Regions from separate parts of the Homo sapiens genome. Here region 1 is linked to region 2. The links are contacts of gene promoters, found by promoter capture Hi-C in human tissues and cell types (Jung and others, 2019). All regions are on one chromosome and are shown on one strand. Each heading gives the region's core, a stretch centred on a gene start or on the middle of the fragment in contact. The rest is flanking DNA. Distances are from core to core; before and after follow the strand shown. Region 1 overlaps KAZN (kazrin, periplakin interacting protein). Region 2 holds the start of FHAD1 (forkhead associated phosphopeptide binding domain 1).

Region 1 (4,178 bases), core at 1,401-3,900, 170 kb after region 2:
AGATACTCTCACAGGCTGGGAAATGGCTCCTGGCCCTGCCTGCCAGGCTGGGGAACTTGAAGCCAGCCATGACTCAGAGTGAGAGACAGACACAGAGAGAGACAGAGAGACAGGCCTAAGCACCGAGACAGACTTGATGGGATCCAAAGGCCTGTGATCGGGAAAGACAGGCCGATGTTCACATGGGTGTTGCCACTGAACTTGGGGCTCTGCGTGTCTGTCCATCCTTTGGACTGCTCTACCAAACCGTACAGTGCCTGCATATTCATTCTATGACCAGAGACACTCATGCCTAATGCTTACTAAGCTACCGGGGACAGGTGGCATGGAAAGGCGGGATGGAAGGATGGTAGACTTTGGCGGGGGTGAGCCCTGGGCTGGAGTGACACAGGCAGCCTGGAGCCAGAGGTGATGGCCGGACAGGCCCAGTGCACCATTCACCAGTGTCTGGGAGAAGCTTTGAGAAGGTTTTGCTATGTACTACTTTCCACCATTTTTGCCCTGAAACAGTCCCCCCTCCACCTAGCCTGAGGTTGACATTTGCAACTAAAAGGGGCTGCACAGGCTTGAGTCCACATGCCTGTCTAGGAGCCATCCAGAGCAAGGAAAGGTGCCTACCTCCGAAGAGTTTGGAGCACCCTGGTACTTGCTGCTCAAATGGCATCATGAATGGGGTCACCTGGGCCTCCCACCCAGTGGGATTCAGAATTCTAGGGCTAAATGGTGCCCTCAAGGTCACGTGGTCCATCCCACAGTCTTGCAGTAGGGCTGGGACTTAGAGGAGGGAGACTGCTCCTAGAGTGGTCTTTAGATCAGGGATGTCAGCTACCAGGGAGGTGGTTAAAAATGCAGAGGTAGGTCAATTGAAGTCAGGAGTTCGAGACCAGCCTAGCCAACATGAAACCCTGTCTCTCCTAAAAATACAAAAATTAGCCAGGTATGGTGGCACGCACCTGTAATCCCAGCTACTTGAGAGGCTGAGGCATGAGAATCGCTTGAACCTGGGAGGTGGAAGTTGCAGTGAGTCGAGATCATGCCACTGCACTCTAGCCTGAGCGACAGAGCGAGACTCCGTCTCAAACAAAACAAAACAAACAAAAACAAACTGCAGAGGCTTAGAGGTAAAGGCCTTGTAAATTCTCCTATGCCCACCCTGCATGGCGAGTGAGAGGGAGGTGGAATTCTTCATCCTGGTCCCGCATGTCCCTGACCTCAGAGTGCCATTGGCAGACACCCTTGGCAGCAGCTATGGGAAAGACTTAGTGCTCTAGCATTTTAATTAATTTTTTTTCTTCTTTTACTATTTAAAATTTTGAGTCTATACCCAGCCTGTGGCTGAGTGACCCATGCCCTGGGCTTCTGAGCCTCTTTTGATGTCTGCAGCATCAAGCACATTGGCACCTCCCTGGCATCTGCATCCCTGGGGTCAAATGTGTGCCTGGATGCAGAGCTCCCTGGAGCCTGATAGAAAAGCTTTAGTTGTAAATGTGTCTTGTGTGTCTGAGTTGGAGGTGGCGCAGGGAACCAGGCTTCCCTGGAGGTCAAGTGAGGTGGCTGAATGTGTCCCTGCACCTGGCTGGGCCTGTTGCTGCCCCATAGGGTCTCAGACCTCAGATAGGGGGGCTGAGCACTTGGACCTCGGCTGCCACTGAGGCAGAGTTGAGGCAGTGAGCTTGGTGAGGGCAGGCTAAGGTTGCAACGTCCCCTGCTGAATTCCATCACTCCTGAGTCTCCATCACCTGTCCCCTGTCTCAGTTGGCTCCACCATCTCCTATCTGGAGCACTCCAGCTGTATCTCAACACCCTACCTCCCTCTTTCTCTTTCATTCCATCCTCTTCAAGCCCAGAGGAAATTTTTTTAAAAAATGGTATCTTCCCAGGGACCTCTTCTGCTCATCATCCTTCAATGGCTCCCTGGTAAAGCCCAAGGTCCTTGCTGTGACCCACAGGCCGACCTTGCCAGCTTCATCCTTAGCTTCTCACCCCTGCCCTTGGCACCCTGGGCTTCCTGCATTTCCCCGATGCCCCTAATTCCCCCTCTCCAATCCCTGCACCTGCCGTTCCCTTGGCCTGAACAGCGGCCTGTCACTTTCCTCTGCCTGGTGAAGCTTACACAGGCTCAGGGCTCTGTTTCAATACTGATTATTTCAGGGACTCCTTTCCTGGTCACCTAGTGTGGGTACCCTACAACTCCCCAACACACACACTCACACACACACACACACACGCTGTCATTAATTCCTGGAACCTTTCCTGCATGACATCTCTCACAGCTGAAACGAACAGTTGTGTAATTATTCGATGAAAGTCTGTGTCTCCCACCAGACCATAAACTGCACATGAGCAGGCGCTGGGCCTGGTTTTGCTCCCTAGACATCTCTAGTCCCTAGCAAGGGCCCAACCACGTTTAACAACCGGCTCTTATATTTTCCAGAGGTACACTGGTTTTAGCATTTGCTTGCCAATTTCTGTGGTGTAAATACTCCTATTGTGGCCAATTTCAGTGACCGGCAGGCTGTCACTGGACGTGGAGTTGGGAAGAGAGCCATCCGTGGGCCTGTGTGAGCCAGCCCTGGCCCAGCACTGCCTGCAATTGAATGAGCCCTCTAAGTATTGAGTAAAAGAAGGCAGGAAGGGAGGAACGGAGGGAGGGAGGGAGCAGGCCTTCCTCTGTGGTCTCATCTTCTGCCAACCCCGCCTCGTCCACGCCTCTTCCAGCCACAGCAGGGTCACCTGTGGCCCCTCTTATGCAGTAGATGCTACCATTCTCTTGTCCCTCTGCCTACGGCAAGGCCTCTGAACTTTGGCACTCGGCATTTGGGGCCAGATTTCTTTGTCATGGGGCTGTCCCGTGCATCGTAGGACATGTAGCAGCATCCCTGGCCTCCAACCACAAGCTGCTGGGGAGCACCGAGTGTAGCTGCTCCCAGCGTCCCCAGCATGCCCTAAGGCACAGGGAGGGTCCTACTCCCTTCTACCCCGGGGCCTCTGTTCTCAGCCCAGCCCAGCTCTGTTCAGGCAGCCAACTACTGTCAACACTCCCTGCCCTTGGGAAGTGGCAGGGGAGCCTCCATCAGCACATGTAGCTCCAAAAGCTGAATTCTCATTTTTTAAACACTTCATGATAATGTGAAAAAACAACTTTTTATGGCCCGATCATGGCTGCCCTGTTGGATGTAGATGCTTTGCTGATCCCTCAGTCACAAGCCCCATGAAATACTTATGAAATGTGTGAAAGGCTTCTGTGGTAGCCCACAGGACCAGGGACAGCGTGGGTGTGAAGAGCATCAGGAGGAGAGCCTATCAGTCACTCACCACTGTGGCTGCTGGGGGCTGATGGCAGGACCCTTGGTGGGCAGCGAGGTGGCAGGGGCCCTGCCACCAACCTGCACCACCCCTGACCCCAGGGCCAGGCTCACCCTTGGGAGGCCCTGGGCTAAAACAGTGGTGGTACCTCCCACCCCAACGTGTCCCTATTTACGACATCATAAAGTAAATAGAAAAGTCCAGCAGAGTGCTGCTTTTACCAACAATAACTGCTTTATACTTTTAAAAAATCACATGGGCGCCCCCTCATTTTGGTGCCACCGTCTTGCAAAGGCCTAGACTTGTGCTTTTTCCCATGACCAGCCACCCTTCTCCCAACCTCGGAGGACATCCTCCTCCTTCAGTCCCTCCTGCCACACTCTGAAAATTTTCCAAAGGGCCAGGGAATTGAGATCCTGGGGTTGGCCAGGGTCCCCACTGCTCTGCACTCAGTTCCTAGGCAGGTACTTGACAAGTATTCTCTAAGTTTATGCACTTAGGAGGAAGCTGCTAAGAGGTCCAGGGAAGACAAACACATAGTTATCCAATGACAATGACTTTATGCTTTTACATATATATCTATACATCAAAAGCTTTCCTCTTTCTTCCTTGCTAACCTGTTCCACTGCTGCAGCAGCACCCACATTTGGGAAGTCCTTCTTATAGTCTCAATTGCAAGTGCAGCCGAAGCCCATCTTTCTCCAGCTGCTGGCCTCCTTGGGCAAGTCCCACACTGACTCCTCTTTTCTGACATGTTTTCCCGGCAGGCTTCTCTGCCAGTGGGCAGCCCTGAAAGGTGGATCCCATGAGAAGTGAGGGGGGGATCTTGACACAGGTGGCCAGGGCAAGAAGACCATCCTTCTCCACGCACC
Region 2 (4,168 bases), core at 58-2,557:
AAAAGACTGGAGTTTCCTGAGCTTGGGGTTCCTTAGCTGGGAAACAGACTCGCAGTGTGCACAGCATCCACCTGAGCTGTCCTGCATCACCCCGGGGTACTTGCAGGGCAAGGGGAACCAACGCAAACATGAGCTCACAGTGCCTGCTGTGCTGTGAGTAATAACATCCTTTGTCTCTGGTCCTGGAGTCTCTGGTCTTCTGCTAGCATCATTAAGCAGTGGCAGGCTAACTTAGCTTGCAAGTAGTGTAAAAATCTCAGACCCTTTGCATTTCCTCACAGTCTGTTCATTACTCCCCTCTGGCCCCCAGCGCTGCCATGCCTGACACATAGTGGTGCTCAGTAAATCATGAATGAATGAAAGTACAAAACAATGCTTAAAAGTAAGTCAGGGTAGCCTAAGAACCTCTGACAGTAACTACCTTTCATTTTCCCCTTCAGTATTTATCCTAGATGACATTCTGGAAAAAAAAAAAAAAGTCTATTTCTTTAGCTGAATGGGTTGGGCCCTATTTCCCCACTTTAATCTTGCCCTGTGCAGTCACTTTCCTACCTGAAAACACTGTAGAAAGTGATTAGATGCGTTAAACTCTGTAAATTAGTTCTAAGACACAGGGCACCGACCATGCAAAAGAGCAAAAGAGCTTCAGGCATCTGCACTCCCTGCTTATAGGTCACAAGTGAGATAGAGAAGCAAAATTTCTGTTGAGGGGTTACCAGATCTTAAGTGGCCTGGGAGCCCTAGAAATTCCTCAGTGTTGTATTTGGGAAGGGAGAGGTTAGGCAAGGGGGGAGTCTCTCTGACCGCCGGGTGGGTGTCGTTCGTAAGTCAGGGGCAGCAGGGATGCCCCTCCTAATCCCAGCTGTAACCCCCAGGACTTCCCAGAGTGGCATGGCTGGTGCCAAGGAGGGTCTAAGGCTCCCGGGGGCTTCCTCCGCGGGCGGGGTGGGGCCTGCATCTGGAAAGGAGGGGCTGGTGTTGGGGTAGCTACTGGGGTGCTCCTGGGGACCGGAGCCTGGATCCAGGAGGATGGGGCCGGGGAGCCACCCCTCCTCCTGCCAGGGCTAGTCCTCGCTGGGCCGCCCCTTCCGGTCCCCGGTCTCGGCCCGCCACCCCTTCCCGCGCCGCACTCACCTGGCGGGAGGAGGAAGCCCACGCTCCGACCTCCGCCGAGAGCCCTGCCAGCTCGGGAGGCGTCGGGCCAGCTCCGGGGCGAAGCCTCCCGGCCGCGCTCCCGCGGAGTCTCCAGCTCGCACCCGGCACCCCGCCCGCCCGGCCGGCCTGTGTACGCGCGTTGCCATGGCAACGCCGCCAGGCGCCGCGGGGTCCAGCCTAATAGATGAGGGCGTGGCCTGCGCGGCAGAGGGGGCGTGGCACCGTGCAGGGAACGCCCACTGGGTTACCGCCTGCTGAATGCTCCAGGCCCCACGAGCCTGCCCCATTTCACAGATAGGAAAGCGGAGGCTCAGAGGTCACAGAAATGGCCCAAGGTTTTACAGCGAGGAAGGAGCAGGGAGGAGATTTGATTCAAGAATCCTTTCCATTACCCCTCACTGTAAGCTGGATGCGTTGAGGGAGGGTCGGGGGCGATAGGGAGAGGTAGGAGATTGATGGAGCTGAACTCATGAGACCCTTGGAGGTTAGTATGCCCCCTGCCCTACCCAAATCTCTAGTCCTTTCCGTTACAGGCCAGAAAATAGAAAGAGTAAGAAGAGGGGATCTCTGGGAGTGGGGTGGGGATTGGGAAAGGGATGGGGTGGAATGAAAAATTTTGAAAGAATGAGGATTTCTTCCATGTGCTGGGGAAAAAATATTTCCAAACTCACAATCCTGCTGCCTCTGCTCCTCCCTGTTAAGAGTGACATTTATTCATTCTTTTGCCCTTTCTCTATCTCTGCAAACATCTTTTGAGTCCTATGAGTGTCACACGCTGATCCCAGAATACACCTGGAACAGTTACTGTCCTTAAGAAACCGCTTGTCAGCCGGCACAGGACTCGCGGGATGGAGTGTGTTGAGCAGATGTGCAAATCCTATCTCCCGCCACTATCTCCAGCAGGAAATCCTATCTCCTGCTGACTCTACCTGGAGAGTGATTCCTTTCACTGGCAGGAAATGGCTGACCAGACACCTCAAGAAAAACTCTAAACGTTTTTCTAAGAGAGATGAACTATGGCACATTCTACCCTAGTGATACGGTTTGGCTGTGTGTCCCCACCCAAATTTCATCTCGAATTGCACTCCCCACGTGTTGGAAGAGGGGCCTGGTGGGAGGTGATTGAATCATGGGGGCAGACTTCCCGCTTGCTTTTCTCATGATAGCGAGTGAGTTCTCATGAGATCTGATGGTTTAAAAGTGTGGCACTTCCCCCTTTGCTCTCTCTCTCTCCTGCTACACCATGTTACAACATGCTAGCTTCCTTGCTTCCCCTTGGCCTTCCGCCATAACTGTAAGTTTCCTGAGGCCTCCCTAGCAGTGCAGAACTGTGAGTCAATTAAACTTCTTTTCTTTGTAAATTATTCAGTCTCAAGGAATTACTTTATAGCAGTGTGAGAACAGACTAATACACCTAGTCAATAGGAAGAGGATCTGAGAGAGAAATCATGGACATCGATTTGTGGTGGAATATACAGTGAAGATGCTCAAACGTGCCTGGAGGCTTTTAGAAATGCGGACTTCTGGGCACAGACCCCAGAGATTCTGATTTAGCAGGCCTGGGACATAATCCAGGAATGTGCATTTGCAACAAGCTTGACAAAACCCTGATTTATGCAGCTGAACTGCAGAGACCTCTCCCGGAGCCTGTCCCTACAAATCTCTTCCAGGCCCTCAGTCTGGAAGGTTCTGCCTGGATCAGTTTCCTACAACCAGAAAGATTCTAGGCGTAAAATGTTAGGAGGGACCACAAGGGCTGGGACCCAAGTGATGGCTTCACAGGAACAGAGAGGGTCAAGCTCAGCTTCCCACACGTTTCTGCCTCAGAGCCTTTGCTCTTGCCCATTCCTCTGCCTGGAATGCACTTCCCCTCAAGAGTCTCCTTTGCCTTCTTTACTTTAGCTTTTTACTCACATATCATCTTTTCTAAAATTGGTTTTTTGAAACAATGAAACAACCACCATGAAATCTAATAAACAACAAAAAAGAGCAAATAAAAACAATAAGAACAGCAAAAGCAAATAAAAATAAGAACAACAAAAGCAAATAAAAATAAGAACAACAAAAGCACATCCAAACAAAATAAAAACCTCAACACTCTATCCCTCTTCCCTTCTTTTTGCCACTTGCTATAGTTAGAATATTTGACCCCTCCAAATCTCATGTTGAAATTTGCTCCTCAGTGTTGGAGGTGGGGCCTGGCGGGAGGTGCTTGGATCATGCGGGCGAATCCCTCATGGATGGCTTGGTGCTGTTCCTGTAGGGTGCATGAGTTCTCACTCTATCAGTTTCCTAAAGAGCTGATTGTTAGAAAGAGCCTGGCACCTCCCCCTCGCTCACTCTCACTTCCTCTCTCATCATGTGATCTCTGCACATGCAGGCGCTACTTTCTGCCAGGAGTGGAAGCAGCCTGAGACCCTCACCAGAGGCAGATGCTGGCACCATGCTTCTTGTACAACCTGCAGAACTGTGAGCCAAATAAACCTCTTTTCTGGATAAATGACACAGCCTCAGGTATTACTTGATAGCAACACAAATGGACTAATACATCACTTATCATCAACTCACATACTATTTCTTTATTTATTTATGTTATTTATTGTGTCTCCCTCCCTGACCCCTGGTAGAATCTAAACTCCATGAAAGCAGGAATTTCTTTTTTCATGTTTTGTTTGCTGCTGTGCCACCAGTCCCTAGAACAATGTCTGAATGAATAAATATGCAGGGGGAAGCCCCTGCCACCCTTCTGAAGCCCGGCCTCCTGTCCTCTGAGGACTGCTGGGCTGACCTGTCCTCGCCCCAGGATGTCGGCTTCTCTAGTCCCCTGCCCAGGCCTGAACACCACCTCCATCCCTACCACCACCCCTCCATGCTTGTCTTTGGTCAAACTCTTGTCATTAACATGAACCCAGGACACAAACTTGCTATCAGACAGACCCCAGTGAAACCCAGGCTGGCCATGAGCTGGAACAGCCCATGCCCCTCACCAGGCTTTGAGAGATCATCTGTTGCT

What was found. The method cuts DNA at HindIII sites, captures the fragments that hold promoters and counts their contacts. A contact is called where the count stands out against the background at its distance.
Region 1: a fragment that was not itself captured here is called in contact with the fragment with the promoter of FHAD1 in region 2 in 2 of the 25 tissues and cell types used here (IMR-90 fibroblasts and pancreas).

What each region holds. Positions count from the first base shown.
Region 1 is chr1:15,079,611-15,083,788 of GRCh38, reverse strand. The region is part of intron 8 of KAZN (kazrin, periplakin interacting protein); the gene reads right to left. Among named protein-coding and RNA genes, the nearest start is that of TMEM51-AS1, 71 kb to the left of the region's middle. The HindIII fragment of the contact is 3,369 bases long and covers 966-4,178 here.
Region 2 is chr1:15,244,362-15,248,529 of GRCh38, reverse strand. It overlaps FHAD1 (forkhead associated phosphopeptide binding domain 1), which reads right to left and starts at 1,307. Exons shown (of 34, transcript NM_001391957.1): 1 at 1,135-1,307. RefSeq lists silencers at 1,042-1,281, 1,299-1,472. The HindIII fragment of the contact is 8,594 bases long and covers 1-3,991 here.